Regions from separate parts of the Homo sapiens genome. Here regions 1, 2, 3 and 5 are each linked to region 4. Evidence: promoter capture Hi-C in 16 types of primary human blood cells and fetal thymus (Javierre and others, 2016). All regions are on one chromosome and are shown on one strand. The core of a region is centred on a gene start or on the middle of the fragment in contact, and the rest is flanking DNA. Distances in the headings are between cores, read along the strand shown.

What was found. The method cuts DNA at HindIII sites, captures the fragments that hold promoters and counts their contacts. A CHiCAGO score of 5 or more calls a contact.
Region 1: a contact is called between a fragment that was not itself captured here and the fragment with the promoter of ACADL in region 4, in 2 of 17 cell types (total CD8 T cells and fetal thymus). The highest score is 6.2, in total CD8 T cells.
Region 2: a fragment that was not itself captured here is called in contact with the fragment with the promoter of ACADL in region 4 in 1 of 17 cell types (neutrophils); the score reaches 5.6 in neutrophils.
Region 3: a fragment that was not itself captured here is called in contact with the fragment with the promoter of ACADL in region 4 in 11 of 17 cell types (neutrophils, naive CD4 T cells, total CD4 T cells and 8 more); the score reaches 13.3 in neutrophils.
Region 5: a fragment that was not itself captured here is called in contact with the fragment with the promoter of ACADL in region 4 in 11 of 17 cell types (neutrophils, non-activated CD4 T cells, activated CD4 T cells and 8 more); the score reaches 11.8 in neutrophils.

The regions. Positions count from the first base shown.
Region 1 is chr2:209,927,450-209,930,149 of GRCh38, forward strand. It overlaps UNC80 (unc-80 subunit of NALCN channel complex), which reads left to right. Exons shown (of 65, transcript NM_001371986.1): 37 at 2,422-2,522. Among named protein-coding and RNA genes, the nearest start is that of RPE, 74 kb to the right of the region's middle. The HindIII fragment of the contact is 2,030 bases long and covers 311-2,340 here.
Region 2 is chr2:209,909,457-209,912,156 of GRCh38, forward strand. All of the region lies in intron 29 of UNC80 (unc-80 subunit of NALCN channel complex), which reads left to right. Among named protein-coding and RNA genes, the nearest start is that of RPE, 92 kb to the right of the region's middle. The HindIII fragment of the contact is 5,728 bases long and covers 1-2,700 here.
Region 3 is chr2:209,963,109-209,965,808 of GRCh38, forward strand. All of the region lies in intron 51 of UNC80 (unc-80 subunit of NALCN channel complex), which reads left to right. Among named protein-coding and RNA genes, the nearest start is that of RPE, 38 kb to the right of the region's middle. The HindIII fragment of the contact is 3,612 bases long and covers 1-2,700 here.
Region 4 is chr2:210,224,180-210,226,879 of GRCh38, forward strand. It overlaps ACADL (acyl-CoA dehydrogenase long chain), which reads right to left and starts at 1,268. Exons shown (of 11, transcript NM_001608.4): 1 at 1,008-1,268. The coding sequence starts at 1,084. The HindIII fragment of the contact is 4,947 bases long and covers 1-2,700 here.
Region 5 is chr2:209,943,522-209,946,221 of GRCh38, forward strand. UNC80 (unc-80 subunit of NALCN channel complex) reads left to right here. Exons shown (of 65, transcript NM_001371986.1): 46 at 1,530-1,668; 47 at 2,326-2,422. Among named protein-coding and RNA genes, the nearest start is that of RPE, 58 kb to the right of the region's middle. The HindIII fragment of the contact is 2,375 bases long and covers 162-2,536 here.

The DNA.
Region 1 (2,700 bases), core at 76-2,575, 300 kb before region 4:
TTACATTTTAAAAAGCTCTTATAACTCACTAATAATTTTTTAAAACCCCATTAGAAAACTGGGCAAAGGATATCAGCAGGCAATCCAATGGCCAGTAACACCTGGAGACAACATCGTTGTTTAAAACTGTAATAAATCTTACATTTCAGCCAGAAAGTCGGCAAATATTACTTTAAATGAAAATATCTATTGCTGGTGAAAAAGCAGGGGAAAGAGCATCCTCATACTTTGCTGATGAAGTATAAAACTCTGTACAAGCATTCTAGAACAGAGTTTCATGATATGTATCAAAAACCTTAAAAGTGTGAAAAGCTTTTGACACAGATTTGGCTTCTAGCAATTTCCTAAGACAATCATGAGGGCTGTATAAAGGACATTGTACACTGATCATTATTTAAAATAAAAAATATTTAGAAAGACTTTAAATCCCTAACAATAAGCAATTAGTTAATCATAGTACCTCCATATGATAACATTCTGTGAATGCTGGAATTGCATTCTAGATGAATATTAATATAAAAAGTGTTAATACATTGCTAAGTAAAAAACCGAATACCAGAGAATATTTTCTATATATAGTACTATTTTAAAATACATGTAAGTAGACTGGGCACGGTGGCTCATGCTTGTAATCCCAGCACTTTGGAAGGCTGAGGCAGGCAGATCACTTGAGATCAGGAGTTCGAGACCAGCCTGGCCAACGTGGCGAAACCCTGTCTCTACTAAAAATACAAAAATTAGCCAGGCGTGGTGGCACGTGCCTGTAATCCCAGCTACTCATGAGGCTGAGGCAGGAGAATTGCTTGAACCTGGAAGGCAGAGGTTGCAGTGAGCCGAAACCGCACCACTGCACTTCAGCCTGGGCAACAGAGTGAGACTCCATCTCAAAAATAAAAATAAAATAAAATAATGCACGTAAATATATATTTCATGTATGTGAAATGACATACTCCAAACTGTTAATAGTTGTTTCTGTGATGAGTGGACTTCCCAGTCTTATTTTTCTCTTTGCATTTTTTTGTATTTTTCATGTTTTAAGCATGAAACTGCCTTACTTAAGCAATTAAAATAAAAATAACATGAACATTTTTAAAGTTTTAATTGACACATAATAATTGTACATATTTATGGGGTACAGTGATATTTCAGTACCTGTATACAATGTGTAATGATCAAATCATGGTAATTAGCATATCCTTCACCTCAAACAGTATTTCTTTGTGTTAGGAACACTCAAAATTCTCTCTTCTAGCTATTTGAGAATATAGAATAAATTATTGTTACCTATAGTCACCCTACAGTGCTAAAGAACACTGAAACTTATTCCTGCTATCTAGCTGTAATTTCTTATCCATTAACCAACCTTTCCCATGCCTCCCTCCCGCCTCCCCTTCCTAGCCTCTAGTTAGCACTATTCTACTGTCCACTTCCGAGAGATCAACTTATTTAGCTTCTACAAATGAGTGAAAACATGCAATATTTGTTTTCCTGTGCCTGGCTTATTTCACATGTAAAGATATTTTTGCAATCAATATCAACCTGAGAAAAACTCACACCTATTTTAATTAGTTATAGAGACACATGAAAGCTACAGCTCTGGATTTATATTTTTGTTAATATTATTTATATGTCCTTTAACTTTAACTGTATGGCTTGTTTCTGAATCAAAATTTGGTATCATTTATTTGAAATAAATTTATGCTAAATTCTGTATTCCTACTTTTGAAAACCAATGGAATTGGGAAACACGTTGAAACTAAAGACCATTCAGTGCTTACTGGCCCTGTTTTTTACCCACTTGCTTTCTTAGTCTGGGTACTTCTAGACAATCTTAGCCTGACCGCTTTCCCCACAGAAATAGCACTTTCTTTCTCATTAGGATTAATTATTTATTCTTAAGACTTCTTCGTTAGAAGTGAGAACCTAATTGTTACTGGCTCAACTACTTTATCTTGCTGAAGGAGATACTGTTTGAAGCACTCATGTGGACAGAAAAAAAAATCCCTAATTCATATGCATTCTAAACCAAAACATATTTTCAAAATCCAAATAGTCTTTCATAGTTTCTCCATAAAATAAACAATAAAATATGACTGTAATTTAATAAGTGCTGACTGCTGCTATTATTGGGGTGACTTCCACAACAAAGACAATTGCATATATTCACAGAGATATTCTTTGCAAAAGCATTGCTGATACCTGAAGACAACTCCTACACTTTTTGGTAACCTGTTCTTTACATGTGAAAATGTTCAGAGACAACAACGAAGAGAACAAACACCTACGTTGCAAAAGAAAAAAGAGTTCACAGAGCCTTTTAAGGCAAAAAGCAGAGACTAAAGCTTGTAAATTGTCAAATACTTTATCTCATAGACTTAACTCCATTAAAGACAAATGTTCAACTTTCTTTCTCTTCTGAAGTGAGTGCTGTGGCTCAACAAGTCTTATGGAACTGTCTAATTGAAGATCCATCAACGGTTCTTCGACATTTTCTGGAAAAACTGACCATCAGCAATAGACAAGTAAATTCCTCTTCCTTTTTAGTGTAGCTCTGTGGCTACAAGTGTGAACACTGTTAAAATCATGCAAAGAACTTTATAGTGCAGTGCATGCAACTCAATGCCCTCCAATACACAACCAATAAGTACTTTTTAAATAATGATAATGATGAGCAATACTTAACTTTGCTGTTTTTAATTT
Region 2 (2,700 bases), core at 65-2,564, 310 kb before region 4:
ATCATCTCCATCTGCACAGACATTTTATCCCCTGGCCAGCTCCTATTGCTGTACTCATCTTGTACATAGACTGAAAATTTCAAGATGGCATCATTATTTTTCTGCACAGCAACCATCACTAAATGATTCAGACTGTTTCTCTTAATTCCCTAGGACAGGAATTTGAGGGGGCCATCTCTTCCTCTTTTGGGCCAAACACCACAAGTGATAAATCCTTAGCCAGTCAAAAAATTGGTTTTGCATTGGTAATCTAATCAAAAGTGGTCAGGATGCCGAGAGGAGTCACAGAGTCAACTAGGATGGATTTTTCTAAGACATATACATAGGAAAAAATGTCATTGGTCCAAGTTCTACCCTATCCCATAGCAGGGATTCCCAAGTATCCCTGACAGAGCATGAGGCTGCATAACTGCCTCCCATTGAACACAGCTCCCTCTGGTAGAACCACCTCAACAATGACTGAGTAGAGGAATTAATCACTAATTTATCAATACCAAAGGACAGAATTTATCCCTAATCTCTATTTATCACTAATAGAGGCATCTACTAGTGGTCCTTTGAAGAGTTTGAATTTCACTGAACTGCAAGATACACATAGTGGTTGAAATTACACATCAAGCAGGGAACTGTAGAGAAACTCAAGACTAGTAACCCAAGACCAAAGGACAGAATTTATCACTCTTGTTTCCAGAATTTATCACTATTCTGTCCTTTGGTCTTGGGTTGCTAATCTTGAGTTTCTCTACAGATCCCTGCTTGATGTGTCATTTCAACCACTAGGTGCATCTTGTAGTCCAGTGAAATCTCTAACTCTTCAAAGGACCACTAGTAGATGCCTTTGGAACTAGTCTCCTGCTCCTTCCAGTAGTCTGAGTTAGGAGTCACACCAATAGAGGGACTTTAAGACCTTTACAAGAGTGTACCCAAACCCATCACACATATACCCCCATCTCTGTGATATCTATCTTCTAATCAAGTCATTAAAAAAGAGTTACTAGCTTATCACCTTGATGTGAAAGCCCTTGCAGCTTCCTTCCTTTTCCACTAAAACAAGCACCCTAAGTGTCATGAGGCCACCAGAACACACCATGCTTCCTAAGGTAACATGGTAGGATATTAAATATTTGAGGAACTTGACTTATACTTTGGTAGGCAGAAACACAGGGTATCAGGGACAAATATAAATGCTCATCTTTTTTTTTTTTTTTTTTTTTGGTGTGCTGAGTATTTTCCTGTATCTGCCTGGTTAAAATTCCTGTAATTTAATCAAGAAATATTATTCAAAAGAATTCCTGGAGAAAAAATGTCCAACCAAAAGAGAAAGTGGTAAAATATTTGCAAAATTTAAGAATCATATTTTCAAATAATTGTAATGGAAAAATACTCTTTATAAAATCATAGTAAAATGAATCATTTAAAATTGTGTGCCACACATAGCATCATCACAGTTGTGCTAAGATGCATGGGGGAAAAGGCTGAAAGGAACCTAATAATGGCTATCATTGGGTTGGGGATTGTATTAGTCTGTTCTCATGCTGCTATAAAGAAATACCCTAGACTGGGTAATTTATAAAGGAAAGAGGCTTAATTAACTCACAGTTCCTCAAGGCTAGTAAGGCCTTGGGAAACTTACAATCATGGTGGAAGGCAGCCCTTCACAGGGCGGCAGGAGAGAGAATGAGTGCAAGCAGGGGTACATTTATTATTTTATAAATATAAATAATAAAACAGAGAGGTGCCAGTTTTTAGTATCTTGACTCTTTTGCAAGGGTCAGATACACCTCCATATTAATGTGGAAAACTATTGCTATATATGATTTTAGAACAGTCTTCAAGTTATATAAAATGGGCATGCTATTTATGCTATATATTGCTTTCACATTCACAGGGGAAAAAAGCAAAGCAATAGTTATCTCCCCAAATAATATGTGTTCCCACATATGCACCTCCATGATTTTTTCTTTAGAAAGCACAACAAGAGCCCTGATTCACTTGTTTTGAAGTAGGTTCATTTTAAAAGTTGGTTCTATACTCGTCACATAATAGATGCATTTTCTTGGGTCGTTTTGTCAGAGTTTTGAAAGACTTTCTTGGAATATCCATGCACTTTTAGATTTGCCTTTTCTTTCAAAATATCTTTATCCATAACACTATGAAGCTCTGTTCAAAAATTCTTAAGAAGTTCAGTTTTTTTTCCCTTGGCTAGAGGGAGAAAGTGTTTCACTGACATGGCACTGGAAAAACAAATGAGCATTTATTCTGTTTGAGGAGAACGATTCCCTCTTTGCACAGCCTGGAGTGCAAAAATAGGAAGAATCAGGACTCTGGATAAATAAGCCTGCCTTCGTTAGGTTCAGTCCTTCTCCCAGCTGCATTATTCAGTCCATCCCTTGGCATTTAAGGAGTTAGAGGAAGAAATTGTCTTATTCGTCCTTATGTAGATGAATCTCCTGGTTGAGGAGACAATTTTTAAGAAGAGCTGCTGCCTCTTACAGAAGAGTATGGTTTTTGAAAAGAAATCATTTTACCTGTACAACTCAGTCCTTGATAATGGATACTATGAACTCATGCTTCCTTGATGGGTCCTGTATTTGACCTTTAACTTCCTAACACTTCTCTATGAAATGTTTTCTCTCCTTTATGACCAAGTCATTCAACTTGCAGCATCCAACCCTATGAAGGGACTATTGGATAGAGTGG
Region 3 (2,700 bases), core at 142-2,641, 260 kb before region 4:
TTGATTAGAGTCTCTGCCCTACAGAAATGTATTGCTTCATTTGTCCAACCCAGTGCTGCCAAAGCAGCTGGATAATAGAATCTGCAAATTCTCTCTCTTTTTCTCTCTCTTTCTCTGTCTGTCTCTCTCTCGTGTGTGGTCTCTATCTCTCTCATTCTCTTTCTCTCTTTCTCTTTTCCTCTCTCCCTCACCCTCTCAATGGGAAAATCTCTTGTGTTCCCACTGGGAAAGAACCATAGGAAAGTTTTTTGATTATACATGTGATAGTACAGCAAAGACTGTGGGAAAGGGAAATTTTGTTTTATGCACAAAGCAAATTTATTTTGTCACATGACCAGGAATTAGAGAAATTCAGGTAGTAATCCATAAAATGGCTCTTAAATTCAGCTCTACGTAGTCTTTGGAAGCTCAAAATAGACAGATTGATTATCTCACAAGCACTTCTCAATGTTATCTTTAAAATAATAAGAGAAAAGAAATAAGTGCATATAGATATACTCTTATTTGTCACACAAATAACCTGAGAAGTAAAGAATTATTTTCTGTATATCAAATTCATGAGAAAGAGATAAACAAAAGAATGTATAAGCTGTTTAAAATGATTTCTTTAAAACACCCACATTCACACAGAATTCCAGGACAATGTGAATATGTTCAGTTTGGAGAGAAGACAATGGGAATTAAGAGACAATAACTATTTCTTGATAATGAAGGGTCATGATGGAGAAGATGGATTGGATTTATGCTTTCAGAATTAAGCCTAGTAGGAAGAAATGAAAGGGAATTTGGAGGCCTAACATGAAAGGAACCTCTCACAGTGTGGACCTCCAAAGATGAAATAAGTTGCCTTGTACAGTAGTGAATTTTCTATCCATGGAGCCAGTCACATAAAGCAATTGTAGAACAATCTAAATAATCAGAGAGGTAGTGGCCTTGGCTGTGATTCCTAAACCAGGATGCCTATCAAAATCAGCTGAGGAGCTCTTACCCTCTAGATCCTTTCAAACAGTTATTCACTCTTCAGTTCTCTTGGAGTAATCACAATTTCTCTTTATTACAATGCTATAGTTAATATGTGAGACAAAGAATTACATGATATTACCACTGCACTACTCCTAATGCATCAGTGGATCTGTGCAGTGACTAAGAACAACTAATATAAAAAGAGTGACAACTAGGAATCCTGTACCTCCTGGCGGAAGTACACACCACATACACCACCTGCTAAGTACTCTTGCCAAAAATTCAAAACTGAGTCTGCAGATGTAGGCCCTGGATTTAACTTCCAATCGAATTAAATACAAAGGCAGTAGGATAGATTAAATTACACCGTGGAGATTCAATCAGCAAAATTCAGAGTGTTGCTACAGAGAATTTCTTTAATAAATAACAAGATAAGGCCGGGCGCGGTTGTTCACGCCTGTAATCCCAGCACTTTGGGAGGACGAGTTGGGCAGATCACAAGGTCAAGAGATCGAGACCATCCTGGCCAACATAGTGAAACCCTCGTCTCTACTAAAAATACAAAAATTAGCTGGGCGTGGTGGCATGCGCCTGTAGTCCCAGCTACTCAGGAGGCTGAGGCAGGAGAATCGCTTGTACCGGGAGGCAGAGGTTGCAGTGAGCCGAGATCGCACCACTGCACTCCAGCCTGGTGACAGAGTGAGACTCTGTCTCAAAAAAAAAAAAAAAAAGACAAGTACAGAAGGGGGGAAATCGACATATTAAAAGAGACTTAAGGACATATCAACAAATTGAAATTTATGGGCCTTATTTTTTCCTAATTTGTTAAAAAAAAGTAATTATGAGATAATGTGTGAATGTTGAAAACTGACTGAATATTTGGGTTTTTTAAAAAAGAATTATTTTTAATTTGTTAAATGTCATACTGTGTTGTGTTTAATTTTTCTGAGTCCATAAATTTGGAGACACATACTGAAATATGTCTGGGTAAATGATGTGATGCTTGGAATTTACTTTAAAATAGTCTAGGGTAGGGAAAAGGGGGAGTGTTTGGGGGTATAAGTAAAACAAGAGTCACTGTAGGCCAAGTACAGTGGCTCACACCTGTAATCCCAGCACTTTTGGGAGGCTGAGGCAGGCAGATTGCTTGAGTCCAGGAGCTCAAAACCAGCCTGGGCAACATAGCAAAACCCCATCTCTACAAAAACTACAAAAATTAGCCGGGCATGGGGCTGTGCACCTGTAGTCCCAGCTACTTGGAAGGCTGAGGTTGAGAGATGGGTATTTTGGGGCTTACTATATACTGATCTCTCTACCTTTTTATATGTTTGAGATTTTCCAAAATAAAAGTTAAAAATATACAGATTTCTGGGCCCAGACCAGACCTTAGAAGTTTTTTGTTTTTTTTTTTTTAGACAGAGTCTTGCTCTGTCACCCAGGCTAGAGTGCAGTGGCACAATCTCCTCAGCCTCCCGAGTAGTTGGGATTACGGGTGCCCACCACCACGCCCAGCTAATTTTTTTGTATTTTTGGTAGAGACAGGGTTTCACCATCTTGGCCAGGCTGGTCTTGAACTCCTGACCTCGTGATCCACCTGCCTCGGCCTCCCAAAGTGCTGGGATTACAGGCGTGAGCCAACACACCCGGCCAGAAGGTCTTATTTATGAGATTTTTGGAGGTCCTGGGAAACTGTATTTTTTCGTTTTCCTTTTAAGCTGTATTAGAAAAATAATAATA
Region 4 (2,700 bases), core at 18-2,517:
GCGCCACTGCACTCCAGCCTGGGCGACAGAGTGAGACTCTGTCTCAAAAAAAAAAAAAAAAAAAAAAAAGTTTGAGGATCACTGTCTTATAATGTTCCAAGGAAGAGTTAAGTATGTATCCTAAAGAAAAGTCACCTTCTCAGTGACGTCTTCCCAAATCTCCCCAGGAAAAGTAGGCATTTTGTTTCATAGCTCTCAAATAAAATTAGAGTAGCTTACACCAATGCTGTCATTCGCAAATTTGCCAGTTCCTTCACCCTTATTAAATAATGAATTCTCCATGCTTCCAATTTGTTTACCCAGTGAATAGATTTTATGCATCAGACAGTATCTGAAACTTTTGATCATATTATAAACACCACCTTAGTAGTCACTGAACTACTTAGACTCTGTCTTCATTAATCCTCTGTATTTAGTTAGATTTGTTGATATATCTAAAGCTAATTTCCTTGTTTGATGGAACCCTCGCCAGGTCATTTCTAGCCCAGTTTGTCCTGGACAATTCTGGTCCGCGCCGCAGCCCGGGCACTGAGTCCGGGTCCCAAGTTCACTACCGCGCGGCGAGTCTAAGCCGTGGGGAACGCCGGGTTCACAGCTCGAACTGGGACACAGATCGCAGCCCGCGCTCCTGCAGCCGGGCCCAGGGGGTGACCACCTCCTCCCAAAACGCAGGCTCCCGGGTCCCACTGCAGGCCGCTGAACTAGACGGGTTGGATTGGGGCTCCGGAATGAACTTCTGGAGAAATCTTTCGGCTTTCCCCGACGTGGGCTCGGCGGTCTGTTCTCGGGGCGGCACGGCTGACACCCCTTTTTCCTCCGCCCAGATGCTGGTTGCACCCAGTCCGCGGGATCCAGGAAAGGAGGCCAGCTCTAGCCCGGCGCCGGAGTTGGGGAGCACTCCCAGCCGCGCGCGCACCGCCCTGCTTCAAGCCAGCGACAGGAGTGACTCGCTGCCCCACCCCACAGCCTCCCGGCCTGCAGCCGCGGAAGTCCCGGCTGGCACTCACCGCGCGGCGGGCAGCTGGCGCGGCGCACGGTGGCCGCCCAGGACGCGTAGGGACCCTCGGAGAAGGCGTGCGGCCATGTCCGAAACACAGGGGCGGCGGGGCGACGGAGGCGACTCTGCGGCTACTCGGCGACTCGGGGCAGGGTCCCCGGGAGGGAGGACGATCAGCTGAGGCGTCCACCTGTGGTGTCCTCCCAAAAAAGCGCTCGCGCGCGCCCTTCCGGAGCCCCAACCACGCCACAGGCTGGTCGCGAGGGAATACGCCCGTCTTGGCTGTCAGCAATAGGATTTTACAGCGAAACTGCTGCCTTTGCTTGCAGCATTCTTTCTTGTTTATCGAAGCAGCTCTGAGCCTTTTTAGCGTCCTGAAGCGCTTTGAGTAACGGATGAAAGCTATGGAGCCCCCAAATACGCGCAAATACCTAACCATAAAAATGTACGTGAAGTTTATTTTGTAACCTTGGAAATTGATTTACTTAAAGTAGGCTGAATAGTTTGAGCAAACCCTTGAAGGTGATAGAGTTAGCCAGGCATAGCTCTGGGAGCCCATGCTATTTATTGGTAATAGCAAGTAGAACGAATTAATCCGACACAGGATTTAGTAGAGACAGGATTTCACCGTGTTAGCCAGAAAGGTCTCGGTCTCCTGACCTCGTGATCCTCCCGCCTCGGCCTCCCAAAGTGCTGGGATTACAGGCGTGAGCCACTGCGCCCAGCCCGTTCTGTTAATTCTTAAATGTCCAAGTTCAAGTACATCCGTTGAACAATTACTCTCGCCCTCAGTGACATTTCAACTAATAAAAGCATGCCCTGTAGAACTCTCAGGTAAAAGATGTGAAATATCCCTCAAGGGAAACATAAATGGCTCAAAGGGTTCATGAAATCCTGGGTGATTGGCTTAAACTATCTGGGTAGTTTGCTTGACTTTTCATTTAATTTTAGCACAGCTAACTCTACATTCATAAACATATTTGTTCTTACTTCACAAAAGGAAACTCAGTAGAAAAAAACTGATAAACATGCTAACCAAATGTGATTCAAATTAACTTCACCAAGAATGGAACAAACTAGCATTAGAGACACCTGTATTGAAAGGAACACCACATTATTTATATACTGTTGGGAAAAAAGGCTGAGGGTTGGGAAGAAAGCTGAGGCAGGGCTTGCATGACTGACATAATGTCCTCTGGAATGTGTCTAGACTTGCTGGCTCCTTGCTTTTAGCCCTCCTAGGCTCCTATTCCCATTATCTCAAGTAGCAGAACATGTTCCATACAAATGTAAACCTCCATTTACTCACCTGTAAATGAAGAATAACAATATCTATGTCATAGGGTTGTTGGAAAGATTTTTCAGATAACGGAGGTCAGGTGGTTGGCACAAAGACAGGAATACAATAAACATTCGATAAATGGTAATTATTATTGTCATCATTGAGAAATACTCATATTTTGTAGTAGATAAAAGAAAGAACAAATCCTTTAAAAAAACCCTCTACTTTGTGTATTCCAATGCCTATTCAATTAGAAGGCAAATGTTCAAGAAAAGGAACTGCTTATGCTTTTCCTCTGATACCTGGTAGTAAATGTCATGGACTACACGGTCCTTTCTAAACCCCATGAAAATGCCAGCTTCTTTAACCCAAATAACTGCCTGTGTCTGTATCTGTATCTGTATCTGCCTGTTTATAAATG
Region 5 (2,700 bases), core at 99-2,598, 280 kb before region 4:
AGCTCTGTGGGAAAAAAAAATGAAGACCAACAAAATGAGAAAAGCAAAGGTTATTTATTAGAGCTTACTATGGCAAGGGAGTTGGCTACCATCACTTGTGTTTTGGCAGAGATGCAAAGGCAGGCAGAGGAGTCGAAAAACTGTATAGTGAAAAAAGGAGAAGCTTCAGGTATGTCCTGATTGGAGCTATTGGCCTGGGGAAGCTGCAGGTGAACTAACTAGTAGTTGGGCATCTTATATGATGGGTTAGGGGTGTATATTGGGCTTTCTCTGGTTGGTCCTAAGTTGGAAGCAGGGACAAAAATTAGGAAAGCTCTCAGTTATTATGCCAGTCCTGGTTACTTTGGGCCAGTTGTTACAGAGGTTATTGTTTGGTTACCACTGGAGGTAGTGGCCTGACTTCCTACAAGCCTGACTTAGGCTGGCTTCCTGAGCTGGTTATTGTAGACAATGGGTTGGTTTCCTGAGCAGGTTGTTGCAGGTTGTGGGTCAAAGTTCTATCTTTATATATGATTTAGTCATTGACAGTTTGTATATTCAGTCTCTGAGCTCTCTTTCTTTAACCAATGAGACATGCATACCATAAATAATATTTCTTTCAACAAGCATATCATTTCTCTTCAACATTCCTCTTCAGCTTTCATCTCAGCTCCTAACACATAAATAGACCAACTCTACAGTTTTTTAAATATTCAATTCATAAAAGAGATGGAAAGTAGAAAACGGTAAAAGGAAGGTTTCCCAATTTTCATTCCTTTTTGTCACTCTCTACCACCTACCCTGCTTTGTTTTTCTTTTTCTTCAGAGATTTTACCACCATATCACATGTTATATCTATTTGTTTCATTAACATGAATTTCTACGACACTCAACCAGCAGAATTTAATCTTCATGAAAGCAAGACCTTTGTATGCTTTTGTCTTTGCTTGTTTGTTTGGTTTTAGTTATTGTTGTATCGTTGTTTTATTTGCATTTTGTTTTTGGTTTTCTATAACCTCAGTGTGTAGCCTGGTGCTTGGCACAGAAGAACATCATAAGGATTTGTTGTTTCAGTGAATTATTTAAAGCCATTTTAAATAGATTTAAAATTGTAAGTATCTCCATGTGGAGATACATTATCAAAGAAGACCTGTGAAATTCCCAGCGTTGTTAGTTAAAATAAGCATACATTCCGCAAACATATTTGTAGTATTCAACCAATCAATTATAGAAATTTTCTTAGTTCTGCCATCTTCAATTAAAGGAACCATTGATATGAACTTTTTGGAAGTTCATATATCGCTGTATTTTTGTGAGCTTTTACAAATATCTCTTTTGTTCTATATTAGAATTTAATAGATCCCTTAAAAGTCAGGTGTACCACTCCAAAATCATACCACAGCATTGCGGGATCCAGAATTATGTAAGCTGAATTCCAGGTAGATGTTGTACTTGTTACTGGTAATAGCATTTATAAAATTTGAATTCCTGTCAAGTTATAGTTTTACTGTGGTGGGAGTCAATAAACAAAAATTGTTTTTCTTTATCAGGATGCTGCCAATAATGGGCCCAGCAAAGGTGTGTCAGCTCAGTGCCTGTTTGACTTGCTGCAGTCCCTAGAGGGAGAGACCACCGACATATTAGACATCTTAGAGCTGGTCAAAGCTGAGAAGCCTCTCAAGTCATTAGGTAAAAGCAAAACTTGCTTTGACATTCTTTTTCTCACTGCAGTTGTTAAATATAAATATATGTATTATACACACATACACGTATATTTATATGTGTGTGTATATATAACTAAATCAAAGTAGCAAAAATAAATGGAACAGTAGTAGAAATTGAATGAGTACATTTTTTTTCTTAAATTTCTTATGAATCCTAAAGAGTAAGGAATTCTCTGCCATGAAAACTATATTAAAATGATGCTCAGTAGACCACTGCTGTAGCACTGCAGTTTTCAGAAAGTTGGGTTATCTTGGGTAATTCTAAGTGAATAACTCTCCAAAATGGTCTTTTATTATCATGGAATGTGTAGAACTAGAGATAACTCCAGGGTAAAGCCTCAACCTTAGGCAATTTAAATGCCCTTCAGTGTCTTCTATTATCTGAGATTTTTTTAAACACTCCAGAAAAGTATTTTTATTTTACATCTGATTGTTCAAAACTAGAAAACAGAATTTCGTTCCCTTGAGATGAAGAAATTAATAGTTTTCACAGCGTAGGAATAAAATTTAACAAGAAAAGGCTACAGTATATACTGGAATGATAACATTAGGAGTAATAGGTGCTTCTTTATCTCCTGCAAAATCCACTCTGATAGTTTGCCTTTACTTTTTGTTCCTTCAGATTTCTGCTATGGAAACGAAGATCTGACATTTTCTATCAGTGAAGCCATTAAGCTCTGTGTCACTGTGGTGGCGTATGCTCCCGAATCATTCAGAAGGTATCTGCAGCCCTTTATTCTGTGCCTTGTGATAAGTAAATATGGCAGAGAAAATAAAATTGAATGAATACAAAGGTTATGCTGATTAATATCAGACTAACATTCTGACAAGTAAGCTTTTAGAAACTAAATTTAGGCCAGGTGTGGTGGCTCACACCTATAATCCCAGCACTTTGGAAGGCTGAGGCAAGAGGATTCCTTTAGCCCAGGAGTTTGAGACCAACCTGGGCAACATAGTGAGACCCTGTCTCTACAAAAATTTTAAAAAATTAAAAATT